5 separate regions of the Homo sapiens genome follow, and regions 2, 3, 4 and 5 are each linked to region 1. Evidence: promoter capture Hi-C in 16 types of primary human blood cells and fetal thymus (Javierre and others, 2016). All regions are on one chromosome and are shown on one strand. Each heading gives the region's core, a stretch centred on a gene start or on the middle of the fragment in contact. The rest is flanking DNA. Distances are from core to core; before and after follow the strand shown. Region 1 holds the start of FGL2 (fibrinogen like 2). Region 2 overlaps PTPN12 (protein tyrosine phosphatase non-receptor type 12). Region 3 overlaps PTPN12 (protein tyrosine phosphatase non-receptor type 12). Region 4 overlaps PTPN12 (protein tyrosine phosphatase non-receptor type 12). Region 5 has its middle 24 kb from the start of PTPN12.

Region 1 (2,593 bases), core at 44-2,543:
TCTATCTGCTTGAATTCTAACTTCAGGTAAAAGAGAAAGAAATATGAATACCTTCCCTTAGTGGCATGCTAAAACTCTCCCCTTAAAATATTTTTTGTGCCACTAGGTCTCAAAGCAAAAATTTGTGCACACATATGAAACTGCTTTTATTCCATCTGTAAACTCTCCCATTTTCTCCAGATATTTGGGATTAAGAACTAGATTACTTGCTAAAATCTTTCAAAGACCTCTTTAGCCATGAGAAGCGGCAGTCAGTCAATCACAAGAAAAACTGATTTCCAACAAACAAGGCACAATTGTGAACATCGCCTTATCTTTATTGTTTTCAAACACCTCATTGAAGAGACAAGTTAAATGCACTAAAACATCAAGAAATTCTCTCTACTTCTGCTTGCAAGTAGGTCTGGCATTAACAAATAAGATCTTAAAATTGAAAGTGACTTCCAGTGGATACAGAACTAACTATGATTTTTGTAATTAGGTCATATTTATGTGGTCATATTTGAGAAGATATTTATTTTTTCCTGTGCACCTTGATAAATAAAAGACTTAATCTGTCATCTATTTAACTTACTGACTCAGGTTAATGTTTATAGATACTCTCTAGCTGTATAACATTTATGAACATATGATAAGAAAACATTATTATACATACCTGGACGTGACTGTATTTGTTCTTGGCTGGGACACTTTGAACATTTGCCATCCAAACTATTGACAACAAATGTTAGATTTGCCACTTTGCTGTCAACATAATTTTCTATGTTGTTCATATTTACAAGATTCAGCTTCTCCAGGCGACCATGAAGTACATTGATCTCCTCTTTGGCATTCTTTAGCTCAGAGGACAGCTTGTTAACCTCACTCTCTAATTCTCTAACTCTGTTATCACCAACCTCTCCCGGGGCTCCTGTACTGGGTAACAACAGTCCGTTTCTGCCTGGGTCTCCGTTGTCATCAGCCTGCAGCTTGCAGTCTTGGCAAGATTTCTTTAGACTATTTACGATTTCCTTGAGGTTTTGGACTTCTTTGAACACCTCCTCGATCCTGCTGAATTGCTTCGGGAGCTGAATAGTCAAGGGGGGCAGGCTTACCTGGTAGGGGCACTCCCCTGCCTCTTCGCATTTCCCTCTGCTTTCTAGTCTCACTGGGCAGACATCCTTTGCTCTTTCATCTTTAATTTCCTCTGTTTCATTGTTTGCCACAACCAAAAAACCGTAAGTGGCAAGAACAGCTGAGCTCAGCCAGTACCAGTTAGCCAGCTTCATCTTTACAGTGCTGCTCACCCCAGCAGGGAGTGCGCAGGGCTGGAGCTGCTTTAATAGCGGCAGCTGCCTGAGTCAGGCTTTCTGTGTTCCCAGGAAAGGGTGGGAGCGTTTGCATCACAAGTTTTAGAAACGCACAGGAAGAGGAGATAGCCCTCATCAAACGCAGTTTGCCAAAAACTGTAACTTACTCTCAATAGAAATAATATGCATTGAAATTATTATAGTCAAATGTACACAGCCAACAAGATTCACTTTCATAATGTATTTTATGAAGTATAAGAAAAGTCTTGCATTTCTAAAGTAATTTGGTATACTTACGCTTGAAGTAAATAATTATACGTAACTTCACTGGAAAAACAGTTTTTAAAGATAAAAAGTAAGAGCTAGTTATCCAAACTGTCTATAGAACAGAAACGTTACTAAAATGAAAATGGTCCTTTTTCCTTCTTAGAATGGGGCATTGGGGAGCCTGTATTTTCTTCATGTTGGACTTTCAGGTGAAATCTTAAGCACTTTTAGAAGTTTCTAAGTGTAACAAAGTACAGCTTTCTGACTATTGCAGTTGACTTTTGCTTCATCTACTTGAAAAAGAGAAGAAAACTAGTGGAGAAAAAAGTGCTACTTTCTATTCCTTTGTCCGTAGCATAGTGTATATTAATGTCTAAATGTCTAAGACCCATTTAAAAGGACATAATTGTCTTTCATCAAAACCAGTAGCTGCCTCCTTTGCCCTTCGACATTTTGGTAATTGTACTGTCATCTTCCACAGCTGCTCAAATGTGAATCTTTGAGCTATGCCAGTGTCTGTCCTGAACTTCTCTTGCCTACAGCATCTTTGCCCTTTCTTTCTGCAGGTAGCCCTGGCAGGCGGGCCTCTTGCTTTCTGTCTCCACGCTGGTTCTTCTACCTGCTCTCTGGGCCACTTGGTATATCAGCTTGTTCAAAACATGTAGCATTAATGATAATAGTTTTCTAACTTTCTCTTCAGAGGCTGAAGGCAGGAAAGAGGAACAGCTTCAGTTAGAGAAACCACCTCCTTTTAATTTGTTTTGCATATTGACATCTCATAAGATTTCTTGTTTAAAAAGGGTTTTTTTGCTTTAAAAATAATTTCAAAATGACTGACATGGGCAAAAATCTAAATGTTTTATTGTATTACTTAAAACACTCTGTAGCCTATCTCATATTTATGTCTTTAACCTGATTTCCTATGACTTTTCTGTATATCCCCTTAATTTTAGCCAAATCCTATTCACATTCTCAAAATGTTGGCAGACTCTTTACTCTTCCATGACTGTATTTATTCTCGCATACTCAGGAGACCT
Region 2 (2,593 bases), core at 52-2,551, 430 kb after region 1:
CTGCTTGGGAGGCTAAACTGGGAGGATGGCTTGAGCCCTGAAGGCAGAGGTTGCAGTGAGCCAAGATAGTGCAACTGTACTCCAGCCCAGGTGGCAGAGCAGGACCCTGTCTCAAAAAAAAAAAAAAGAATCTACTTGTAAAACTTGAACAGATATAGGAATATCTTATGAGAGTATTGCTGTCATTTTAATATGATCAGTATTCTGGAGATATTCATTTATCTTCTCATGTCCTAGGAATGTGGGAATGTGTCTAGAGAATCTGAACTTCACAGAGTCTTTATTTATTTATTTTATTTATTTTGAGACAGAGTCTTGCTCTGTCACCTAGGCTGGAGTGCAGTGGCGTGATCTCAGCTCACTGCAACCTCTGCCTCCCGAATTCAAGTGATTCTCCTGACTCAGCTTCCTGAGTAGCTGGGATTACAGGCGCACGCTACCATGCCTGACTAGGGTTTTGTGTTTTTAGTAGAGACGGGGTTTTGCCATGTTGGTTAGGCTGGTCTCAAACTCCTGATCTTGTGATCCGCCTGCCTTGGCCTCCCAAAGTGCTAGGATTACAGGCGTGAGCCACCATGCCTGGCCCACAGAGTCTCTTTTAAGGGGAAACCTGGTGTACCATGTGATTACTGCCAGTTATCTGGTTGGATAAAAAAAGGTTGATCACCTGGGGGGAGAAAAAAAAGCAAAAACTCTGAGGTGGGGTCCAGTGGCTCACCCCTGTAATCCCAGCACTTTGCGGGGGCCGAGGCAGGCAAATCACTTGAGGCCAGGAGTTGGAGACCAGCCTGGCCAACATGGCAAAACCCCATCTCTACTAAAAATACAAAAATTAGCCAGGTGTGGTGGCATGTGCCTGTAGTCCCAGCTACTCAGGAGGTTGAAGCACAAGAATTGCTGGAACCCAGGAGGTAGAGGTTCCAATGAGCCAAGATGGTGCCACTGCACTCCAGCCTGGGTGACAGAACAAGACTCTATCTCAAAAGAAAAACAGAACACAAAAACTTAAATATACAAGCCCTCAAGAAGTTTGCTTCATATAAAGTTCTTAAAAAGCAACAAAGCCTGGGCAACATAGTAAACCCTATCTTCTTCTTTGGTTTTTTTTTTTTTTTGAGACAGGATCTCATTCTTTCACCCAGGCTGGAGTGCAGTGGCATGATCAGAGCTCCCTGCAGCCTTGACCTCCCCAGGCTCAGGTGATCCTCCTACCTCAGCCTTCCTAGTAGCTGGGACTACAAGCATGCATTGCCACATCCAGTTAATTTTTTTGTATTTGTTAAAGACACAGGGTTTTGCCATATTGCCCAGGCTGCTCGCTCTCTCTCTCTCTCTCTCTCTCTCTCTCTCTCTCTCTCTCTCTCTCTCTCACTCTCACTCTCACTCGCGCTCTCTCTCTCGCTCTCTCTCTCTTTTTTTTTTTTTTTTTTTTTTTGGAGACAGTCTTGCTCTGTCGCCCAGACTGGAGTGCAGTGGCGTGATCTCAACTCACTGCCATCTCCACCTCCTGGGCTCAAGCAATTCTCCTGCCTCAGCCTCCCAAGTATCTGGGACTGCAGGTGTGTGCCACCACACCTGGCAAATTTTTGTATTATTAGTAGAGATGGGGTTTTACTGTGTTGCTCAGGCTGGTCTCAAACTCCTGAGCTCAATTGATCCACCCACCTTGGCCTCCCAAAGTGCTGGGATTACAGGCGTGAGCCACCATGCCTGGCCCCTATTTCTTTAAGGAAAAAAATAAAGGCAACTAGAGGGTATAACCCACCCGAACAAAGGAGTATACCCAGAAAGAGGAAAATGAGACCTGGGAAACAGGAGAATCTGAAACCAGAGAGAACATTAGCTCTGTGATGGACTAGGGAACCAGTAGTCCACACTGGAGCAGGAGGCCAAAAGTTACTAACAAGGATGTCTGTGGTATTGATACTTACTATGTGTGCTTGTCATTATTGAGAGGAGGTATACCAATCTGCAAGAAAGTTAGAAGAAAAGCTGAGTAACTGATGATGCATAGAGAGCTAAGCCATCAGAAATCCAAGGCAGTCATTAGGGGAAAACAAGACACTATAGAAGAAAAGATACGAAATCATGGTGTCATAGATGGGAATACTATCTGCAGTCATACGACTGAGGTAATGAAAAATTACAATATAACAGTATTGGAAAGATAGAGAAGGACACTTCCACAGTAGGAAGTCAGTAGAAAATGTGTGAAACAAAGATCAAGAAATAACTTTTGAAATAGTCTGAAATACAGAGGTGTAAATTTTAGAAGCAGCTATAAAAAAATGTTGAAAGTTGATGCCTCTGGCTAACAGGAGGGCTGCGGGGCAGAGACTATGTTTTTCATTCAAAGTCTTGTATTTGACTTTTTAAACAGTATATGTGTATTACCTTGATGAACATTAAATTTTCTTAGTCTGAAAAACTGCAGTTTTTATTCGCAACCAGATTGTAATGGCTCTTAATATGCTACTCTTAGCTACATAATTCTCAGGTATCAACTTGTTTAACAGTCTTAAAATGCCCTTTTTAAATGTTTGTTTTTCAGTTGCCTTGTTGAAGGGGATGCTAAAGAAGAAATACTGCAGCC
Region 3 (2,593 bases), core at 63-2,562, 380 kb after region 1:
CCATGTCGGCCAGGCTGGTCTCAAACTCCTGACCTCAGGTGATCCACCCGCTTCAGCCTCCCAAAGTACTAGGATTACTGGTGTGAGCCACTGCACCTGGCCTGGAAATTTATATTGAAAGTAATTGTACTGAGAGATATGTGCTTATTTACTGTTAGATAACTATTTAATTCATTGCCCGGGCACAGTGGCTCATGCATGTAATCCCAGCACTTTAGGAGGCCAAGCTGGGCAGATTATTTGAGCTCAGGAGTTCAAGACCAGCCTGGGCAACATAGCAAAACTCAACACACACACGCACGCACGCACGCACACACACATACTCTCTCTTTCTCTCTCTCGTGTGTACACTTGTGGTCCCAGCTACTCAGTAGGCTGATGTGGGAGGATCACTTGAGACCAGGAGGTCAAGGCTGCAGTGAACTATGATTGCACCACTGCACTCCAGCCTGGGTAACAGAGCGAGACTGTCTCAAAAAATAAGATGGAGAAGAATTTAATTCACTAACTTCCTTTGCATGTTTTAACATGTGCAGTGCTTGCAGAAATAGAATTTTTAAAACAGGTTTGAGGTATAATTTACATACCCATGAAATTTATCCATTTTAATTGTGCAATTCAATGATTTTTTTAAAGTAAATTTATAGAGTTTTGCAACAATTAATACAATCTAGTTTTAGGACATTTCCATCACCCCTAAAAGATCTGAGTCTTCAGCCCTGGGCAGCTGTTAATCAGCTTTCTGTCTGTATAGATTTTCCTTTTCTGTGAATTTAATATAAATGTAATCATACAATATATAGTCTTTTGTGTCTAGCTCTTTTAACAGTTTTTTTTTGAGATGAAGTCTCATTCTGTTGCCCAGGCTGGAGTGCAGTGGCATGATCTCGGCTCACTGCGACCTCCGCCTCCCAGGTTCATGAGATTCTCCTGTCTCAGCCTCCTGAGTAGCTGGGATTATAGGCGCACATCACCATGCCTGGCTAATTTTTTGTGTTATTTTTAGTAGATACAGGGTTTCACTATGTTGGCCAGACTGGTCTCGAACTCCTGACCTCGTGATCCGCCTGCCTCGGCCTCCCAAAGTGCTGGGATTACAGGCTTGAGCCACTGTGCCCAGCCTCTTGTTAACACATTTTAAAGATTCATTCACGATGTAGCATGCATCGATAGTTCATTCCTTTTTGTTGTTGAATAATATTCCATTGTATGAATGATGAACATATTGAATAATGCTGCTATGAACATGTCATACAACTCTCTGTGTGGACCTATGGTTTTGTTTCTCTTGGTTGGATAGCTAGCAAAACCATGGAGAGGAATAATTGTTTTCATTTTTTTGATATTTAGATTATTTCTAAATATGCTTAATAAGAGCACCAATCTGGCAGGGCGAGGTGACTCATGTCTGTAATCCCAGGACTTTGGGAGGCCGAAGCGGGCAGATCACTTGAGATCAGATCAAGACCAGCCTGGCCAATACGGTGAAACCCCGCCTCTACTAAAAATACAAAAATTAGCTAGGCATGATGGCACGTGCCTGTAGTCCCAGCTACTTGAGAGGCTGAGGCACGAGAATCACTTGAACCTGGGAGGCAGAGGTTGCAGTGAGCCAAGATGGTGCCACTGCACTCCAACCTGGGTGACAGAGCCAGACACTGTCTCAAAAAAAAAAGAGCACCAATGAAGAATATTAAAACAGCCACCCAAGTTCTTTCTCGCTACTTCTAGTTCCCGGCGCTTTGCCGGGTGTTAATGGTGGCCCAAAATCATGGGTGCTGTGGCTTTCTCCCTAAGGTGTCACAGGAGCTAAGGGTGCCACTTAACAAACTGCAGAAGATGCAGGCAGGTGAAGGACACCCAGTCTGCTGTGGCAGTGGAATGTGGCAGAAAAGCCAGCTGGGAGGGCGGGGAGCAATCCTGGAAGGCCTGGCTGACCCCACAATTGAACAGGGTTTGGTGTGTCATTGCTTTTAGGCCTTTTCAGTGGACAGAACTGGGGTGGATATACACTCATTTATTTGAAATCATGCATTTGTTCCATACTCCAATTCCAGCCCACCCCTTCTTTGCTCTATGGTCAAGTGAGTGAGAACAGGCGGCTACATTTTCAGCCTTGTTGCTCACCGCTTCCTTCCAGTAGTCCCATGTTGCTTCATATCTCTTCAGTACATGTATTATTTAGACCCAGAGCCTTGGCTTTTAAATCAGGCAGCCCCAGTTTCAAATGTGTCACTGCCATCTCAGTTTTGTGATTTGGGCATACCTCTGTCTGTGCATAGCGATATTAACTTCTATCTCCATGGGTGTGTGGTGAGGATAAAATTATGTGCTTAGAGGAAACGTTCATTCCATGGTAGCTATTTTTTATTAATTCTATACTTTTGAACCTATTATGCTACCTATAATGCCCTATTTTTTTTTTCTTTTTAATCATTGGCAAACTTCTCATTCCCTGAGACCCAGCTTGTCACACCTCTGAAGACTGCTGATATCCTCAAGATGTTCCTTACTCCCTTTCCTTGCTACTACTTTACTATGGATATATGAACAACATTATTGTGCTTATTACATGCAATAAATATTTATTGGA
Region 4 (2,593 bases), core at 47-2,546, 350 kb after region 1:
TTAGATCTATAAATTATTATTTTGCCTTTAAAACAGGTTATAGATAAAAGAGGGAAAGGTAATCTGGTGATACTACTGGGCAGGAATCTTTAAATTATTTAAAGAGGGTGTAAACGAAGGAATGTACAAAAGTAAAAATAGGCAGGGAAGAAAAGACCTGATGGAAGTAACATATCTTTGTTAGGAATTTGAGTGTCTAGCATTATAGTGGACAGTCCAATGATATGGTTTACAACAGTTATATAGGTATTAGACCTGGCCATTACTTACTATGTAATGTTGAGTACATGATTTGAACCACTCTCAATCTTAGCTTCTTTATCGTTAAAACAGAAATAGTTTGTAATGTTTGAATTAGTAAGAATAAAGGACACAGTGTCAGATGTGTCAGAAGGAAGCATGATTAGGGCATTAAGTGAGAAGTTAAATAAATAGGAGGGGAAAAAGGCCACCCCTTGCTCTTTTTCTCTTTTGGACCTTTTTGGTGACAGAGACAGAAAGAATGTGTATAGTATATTTAATTATCTGAAAATACAGAGCTGAGCATCCCTAATCTGAAGTTTAAAATGCCCCTACATCCAAAATTTTTTGAGTGCCATTATGGTCTGAGAGCAGACATTGTGTATGATTGCTGTTTTAAATTTGTTGAGGTGTGTTTAATGGCCCAGAATTTGGTCTGTCTTGTTGAATGTTTCATGTAAACTTGAGAAGAATGTGTATTCTGTAGTTGTTGTCTTAGGTAGTCTATAGACGTGCATTATATATCCAGTTGATTGATGATGCTGTTAAGTTCATCTGTGTCCTTACTCATTTCCTGCTTGCTTGATCTGTCCATTTCTGATAGAGGAGTACGGAAGTCTTCAACTATAATAGTGGATTCAAATATTTCTCCTTGCAGTTCTATCAGTTTTGGCTCACATATTTTTATGCACAATTGTTAGACACATATGGATTAAGGATTATGCTGTCTTCTTGGAGAACTGACCCCTTTATCATGATGTAAAGCCACCCTATCCCTGATAACTTTACTTGCCATGAAATCTGCTTTATCTGAAATTAATAACTAGTCTCATTTTATTTTTGTGTTAGCTGATATATTTTTTTCCATCCATTTGCTTTTAATCTGTGTGTGTTTGTATATTTAAAGTGGATCTCTTGTAGACAGCATATAGTTAGGTCTTGGTTTTTAATCCACTCTGACAATCTTTTAATTGGTACATTTAGACCATTCACGTTCAGAGTGATTACTGATAGCATTGGATTAATGTCTACCATATTTGCCACTATTTTCTGTTGTCATTGTTCTTTGTTCCTATTTTTTTTTTTGTCTTCCACTGTTTTTCTGCCTTTTGCAGTTTTAATTCAAAATATCATATGACTGTCCTTTCTTAGCATGTCAGTTTTACTTCTTTTTTTTTTTACTTTTTTTGTTTTTGGTCTTTTCTAAAGAGACAAGGTGTCGCTTAGTTGCTTAGGCTGGAATGCAGTGGCATGTCATAGCTCACTGTAACCTCAAACTTCTGGGCTCACGTGATCCTCCTGCCTCAGCCTCCTGAGTAGCTAGGACTACAAGTGTGTGCCACCAACCCTCAAGTAATGTTTTTTATTTTTTGTAGAGAGAAGGTCTTACCATGTTGCCCAGGCTGTCAAACTCCTGGCCTCAAGCAATCCTCCTGCCTTGGCTTCCCAAAGTATTGGGATTATAGGCATGAGCCACTGTGCCCAGCTGGGTGTTTTCACTTTTTTAAGTGGTTGCTCTGGCATTTGCAATGTATATTTCCAGCAAATCCAAGTCCATTTTCAGGTAACACTGTACCACTTTATGGATGGTGAGATTACTTTATAATGACAAAGTAACCCTAATTCTATCCCTTGTATCATTGCTGGCATTATCTCACTTACAAATAAACATACACACACAAGCATATATAACCAAATACATGTTTGCTGCTATTCTGAATAAACGTATCAGATCAATTAATAAGAAAAATAAAAGTTTTAATTTTACTTTCATTTATTCTTTCTCTCATTTCTTCTTCCTTTCTTTATGTAGATGTGAATTCCAGACTAGAATAATTTGTCTTCTCTCTAAAAAATTTATTTTAACATTTCTCACAAGGTAGGTCTGTGGCAACAGATTCTCTTAATCTTTTCTGGGGGACAGGGTCTTGCTCTGTCTGTCATCCAGGCTATAATGCGGTGGCATGATCATGGCACACTGCAGCCTTGACCTGCTGGGCTCAACCAGTCCTTTTGCCCTAGCCTCCGGAGTAGCAGAGACTACAGGCATGCACCGCCATACTCACTTAAGTTTTTTTTTGTTTCTGTTTTTGTAGAAACGAGGTCTCACTGTGTTGCCCAGGTTGGTCTTGAACTCCTGGGCTCAAACCATCCACCCACCTCAGCCTCCCAAAGCATTAGGACTACAGGCATGAACCACCTTGCCCAGCCTTAATTTTTGTTTGTTGAGAAAGTTTTTATTTCTCTTTGGTTTTTGAAGGATAATTTTGCAAGGTTCAGGATTCTAAGTTGGTGGGTTTTTTCTTCTCAATATGATATTTTGTCACTCTCTTCTTGCTTGCCTAGTTTCTGA
Region 5 (2,593 bases), core at 65-2,564, 310 kb after region 1:
AGTTAAGATTATTCAGTGCCTGAGTATCCAATTTGAAGACTACCTATGTCTTTTAGACATTATATTTCCCATTAATACCTCCAGTGAATGTCAGCTGGGAAAATGAGAGGAAACTCAAGTTAGCTGATGGAAGCTTCCTATTAATAGCTCTGTAGAAAAGTATGGTAGGGAGTTTGAAATTATTATTGAAGATGAAAATGAGGAAATACCCATAGATCGATTAGCTGTACTTGAGACGTGTTTATTTAAACATGTACATTCTAACGATAGTATTTTTATTCAGAGGGACCTTTGATAAAAGAGAACCTAGATGAGACAACAAAGTAATTTTTATATCCAGTGACCATACACTCCTGATTTTTCAGAACAGTTCCCATTTTAAATATTATGTCTGTTATTAATGCCCAACATGTCCTACCATGTATCCTGATTTATGACATAAATATGTCACAATATTTATAGGAACATTTGAGACACTTTTGAAAGGTCTCCTGGTGAACTTCATCTAGGTACTTCCAATAGACATTAAGTGGATTTTAGCAATTGCTCCACAATCCTTCCTAAGAAATTTTACAACTTCATATAAACATATAGAATAAAACCTCTTGTGCTATCCATTTGGAGTTAATGGAACCACCGTTCATTCAGTGGGAAACTGAGAATCATGAGTCCTCCCTCTCAGCCTCTTCACCCAGTAAGTCGCTTTTTATAGCTTGAATGTTTGTATTCCCCTCAAAATTCATATGCTGAAACTCCAACCCCCATTGTGATGGTATGAGGAGGTGGGGCCTTTGGCAAGTAATTAGGTTTAGATGAAGTCATGAGGGTGGAGGCCCCATGATAGGATTAGTGCCCTTATAAGAAGAGGAAGGGAAACCAGAGCTCCTTCTCTCTTTAAGGATACAGTAAGAAGGTGGCCATCTACAAGCCAGGAAGAAAGCCCTCACCAAGAATTGAATCTGCTTGTGCCTTGATCTTGGACTTTCCAGCTTCCAGAATAATGAAAAATAAATGTCTGAGTTTAAGCCACCCAGGCTATGGCATTTGGTTAAGGCAGCCCGAGCTAAGACATTTCTATATCTTGTACCATCCCTTCCCAATTGGCCTCACCATTTATCCTCCACAGTAAGCCAGAATGGTCTCTGAAAGAGCAAATACGTTCATGTTAACTCCACCTTAAGATAATCTTCCATGACTCCCCATTGCTGCAGCAGGGGGAGTAAGCTCAAATGTCTGCAGGGATAGCTAGGTAACCTAAATATGGAGGGGTGAGCCTGAGGAGACAGAAGACTAGAGAATGTACGTCTTTTTAAAGACATTCAAATTCAAGAAAAAAAAACCTACATCAAACAAAGAATATTTGTGGGCAAGATTCCTCCTGTGGGGTGAGAGTTTTAATTATTTTAACTTGTTAGCATAGTAGAACAAGTATCTTCATTATCTGGCTCCTATAAACAAAGATAATCTTCCGTGACTCCCCATTGCTGCAGCAGGGGGAGTAAGCTCAAATGTCTGCAGGGATAGCTAGGTAACCTAAATATGGAGGGGTGAGCCTGAGGAGACAGAAGACTAGAGAATGTACGTCTTTTTAAAGACATTCAAATTCAAGAAAAAAAAACCTACATCAAACAAAGAATATTTGTGGGCAAGATTCCTCCTGTGGGGTGAGAGTTTTAATTATTTTAACTTGTTAGCATAGTAGAACAAGTATCTTCATTATCTGGCTCCTATAAACATACATCATCCTCTCCAATTATTCTCAGTTGTGTGCTCCTCTCTGAAATTGCCAAGCATTTTTGCCCATGCCTCTTCCTCTGTCCAGAATGTCCTACTGGTGAATTTCTACTCATTCTTGAAGGCTTATTACCTCTGAGAAGTTTTCCTTGATATACCTAAGCTGAAATTAGTACTTTTCTTCTGCATTCCAGAACACATATTCATATGCTGTTTAGATATACAACTTATCTCACTGCTGTAATTAGCTTTTATGTCTGTTTCATCTAAACACCACACACATAGCTCATGGTGAGTGTTGAATTCATCTTGATGTCCCCAGCATTTTACGTGGTACCTACGCACAGGCACTTGGAAAACATGCTGGATAGACAGATGGCCTGCTTAACTAAATGAAATGATTGATCCAAACAGTATTTTAGAAGAAGTGCAGTTTTCAACATTTCAAGTGTACAGAGTAGGTCCACTCGCCTACAAAGTGTTGCCAAGTGGAAGCCACTGTCAGAAATGTATTAATGACAGACAAGTCTTAGGTATGATTGGCATCCTCATTTATGTGAAGAAATGAAGCCAAAGGAAAGCACCCTTAGACCAACCTTCTTCCCTCCCCAACCACATGGAAAGAACTTGCATGCTAATGGTCAAAAGTTGGAGCTGGGAGTCAGAGATTCCTGGTAGAATTTCAGCATTACCATCTAGAAACAGTGAAACTTCAGGCAACTTACTTAATCTCTCTAAATCTGATCATCTTGTTTGTAAAATAAGCTTGATAATAGTACTTAATGAGAAAAAATATGTAAAGCATTTGGTATAGTATCTGGCACACAGTAAGCACTCATCACATATTGATAATTCTGGT

Evidence for each region. The method cuts DNA at HindIII sites, captures the fragments that hold promoters and counts their contacts. A CHiCAGO score of 5 or more calls a contact.
Region 2: a contact is called between a fragment that was not itself captured here and the fragment with the promoter of FGL2 in region 1, in 1 of 17 cell types (monocytes). The highest score is 5.4, in monocytes.
Region 3: a contact is called between a fragment that was not itself captured here and the fragment with the promoter of FGL2 in region 1, in 1 of 17 cell types (monocytes). The highest score is 5.6, in monocytes.
Region 4: a fragment that was not itself captured here is called in contact with the fragment with the promoter of FGL2 in region 1 in 1 of 17 cell types (neutrophils); the score reaches 6.0 in neutrophils.
Region 5: a contact is called between a fragment that was not itself captured here and the fragment with the promoter of FGL2 in region 1, in 1 of 17 cell types (monocytes). The highest score is 5.2, in monocytes.

What each region holds. Positions count from the first base shown.
Region 1 is chr7:77,198,526-77,201,118 of GRCh38, forward strand. FGL2 (fibrinogen like 2) reads right to left here and starts at 1,294. Exons shown (of 2, transcript NM_006682.3): 1 at 656-1,294. The coding sequence starts at 1,268. All of the region lies in intron 2 of CCDC146 (coiled-coil domain containing 146), which reads left to right. RefSeq lists a silencer at 885-994. The HindIII fragment of the contact is 5,002 bases long and covers 1-2,593 here.
Region 2 is chr7:77,624,154-77,626,746 of GRCh38, forward strand. PTPN12 (protein tyrosine phosphatase non-receptor type 12) reads left to right here. Exons shown (of 18, transcript NM_002835.4): 13 at 2,552-2,593. Among named protein-coding and RNA genes, the nearest start is that of APTR, 71 kb to the right of the region's middle. The HindIII fragment of the contact is 4,744 bases long and covers 1-2,593 here.
Region 3 is chr7:77,575,032-77,577,624 of GRCh38, forward strand. The region is part of intron 2 of PTPN12 (protein tyrosine phosphatase non-receptor type 12); the gene reads left to right. Among named protein-coding and RNA genes, the nearest start is that of PTPN12, 39 kb to the left of the region's middle. The HindIII fragment of the contact is 3,824 bases long and covers 1-2,593 here.
Region 4 is chr7:77,552,537-77,555,129 of GRCh38, forward strand. All of the region lies in intron 1 of PTPN12 (protein tyrosine phosphatase non-receptor type 12), which reads left to right. Among named protein-coding and RNA genes, the nearest start is that of PTPN12, 17 kb to the left of the region's middle. The HindIII fragment of the contact is 3,345 bases long and covers 1-2,593 here.
Region 5 is chr7:77,511,991-77,514,583 of GRCh38, forward strand. No RefSeq gene overlaps it. Among named protein-coding and RNA genes, the nearest start is that of PTPN12, 24 kb to the right of the region's middle. The HindIII fragment of the contact is 2,366 bases long and covers 132-2,497 here.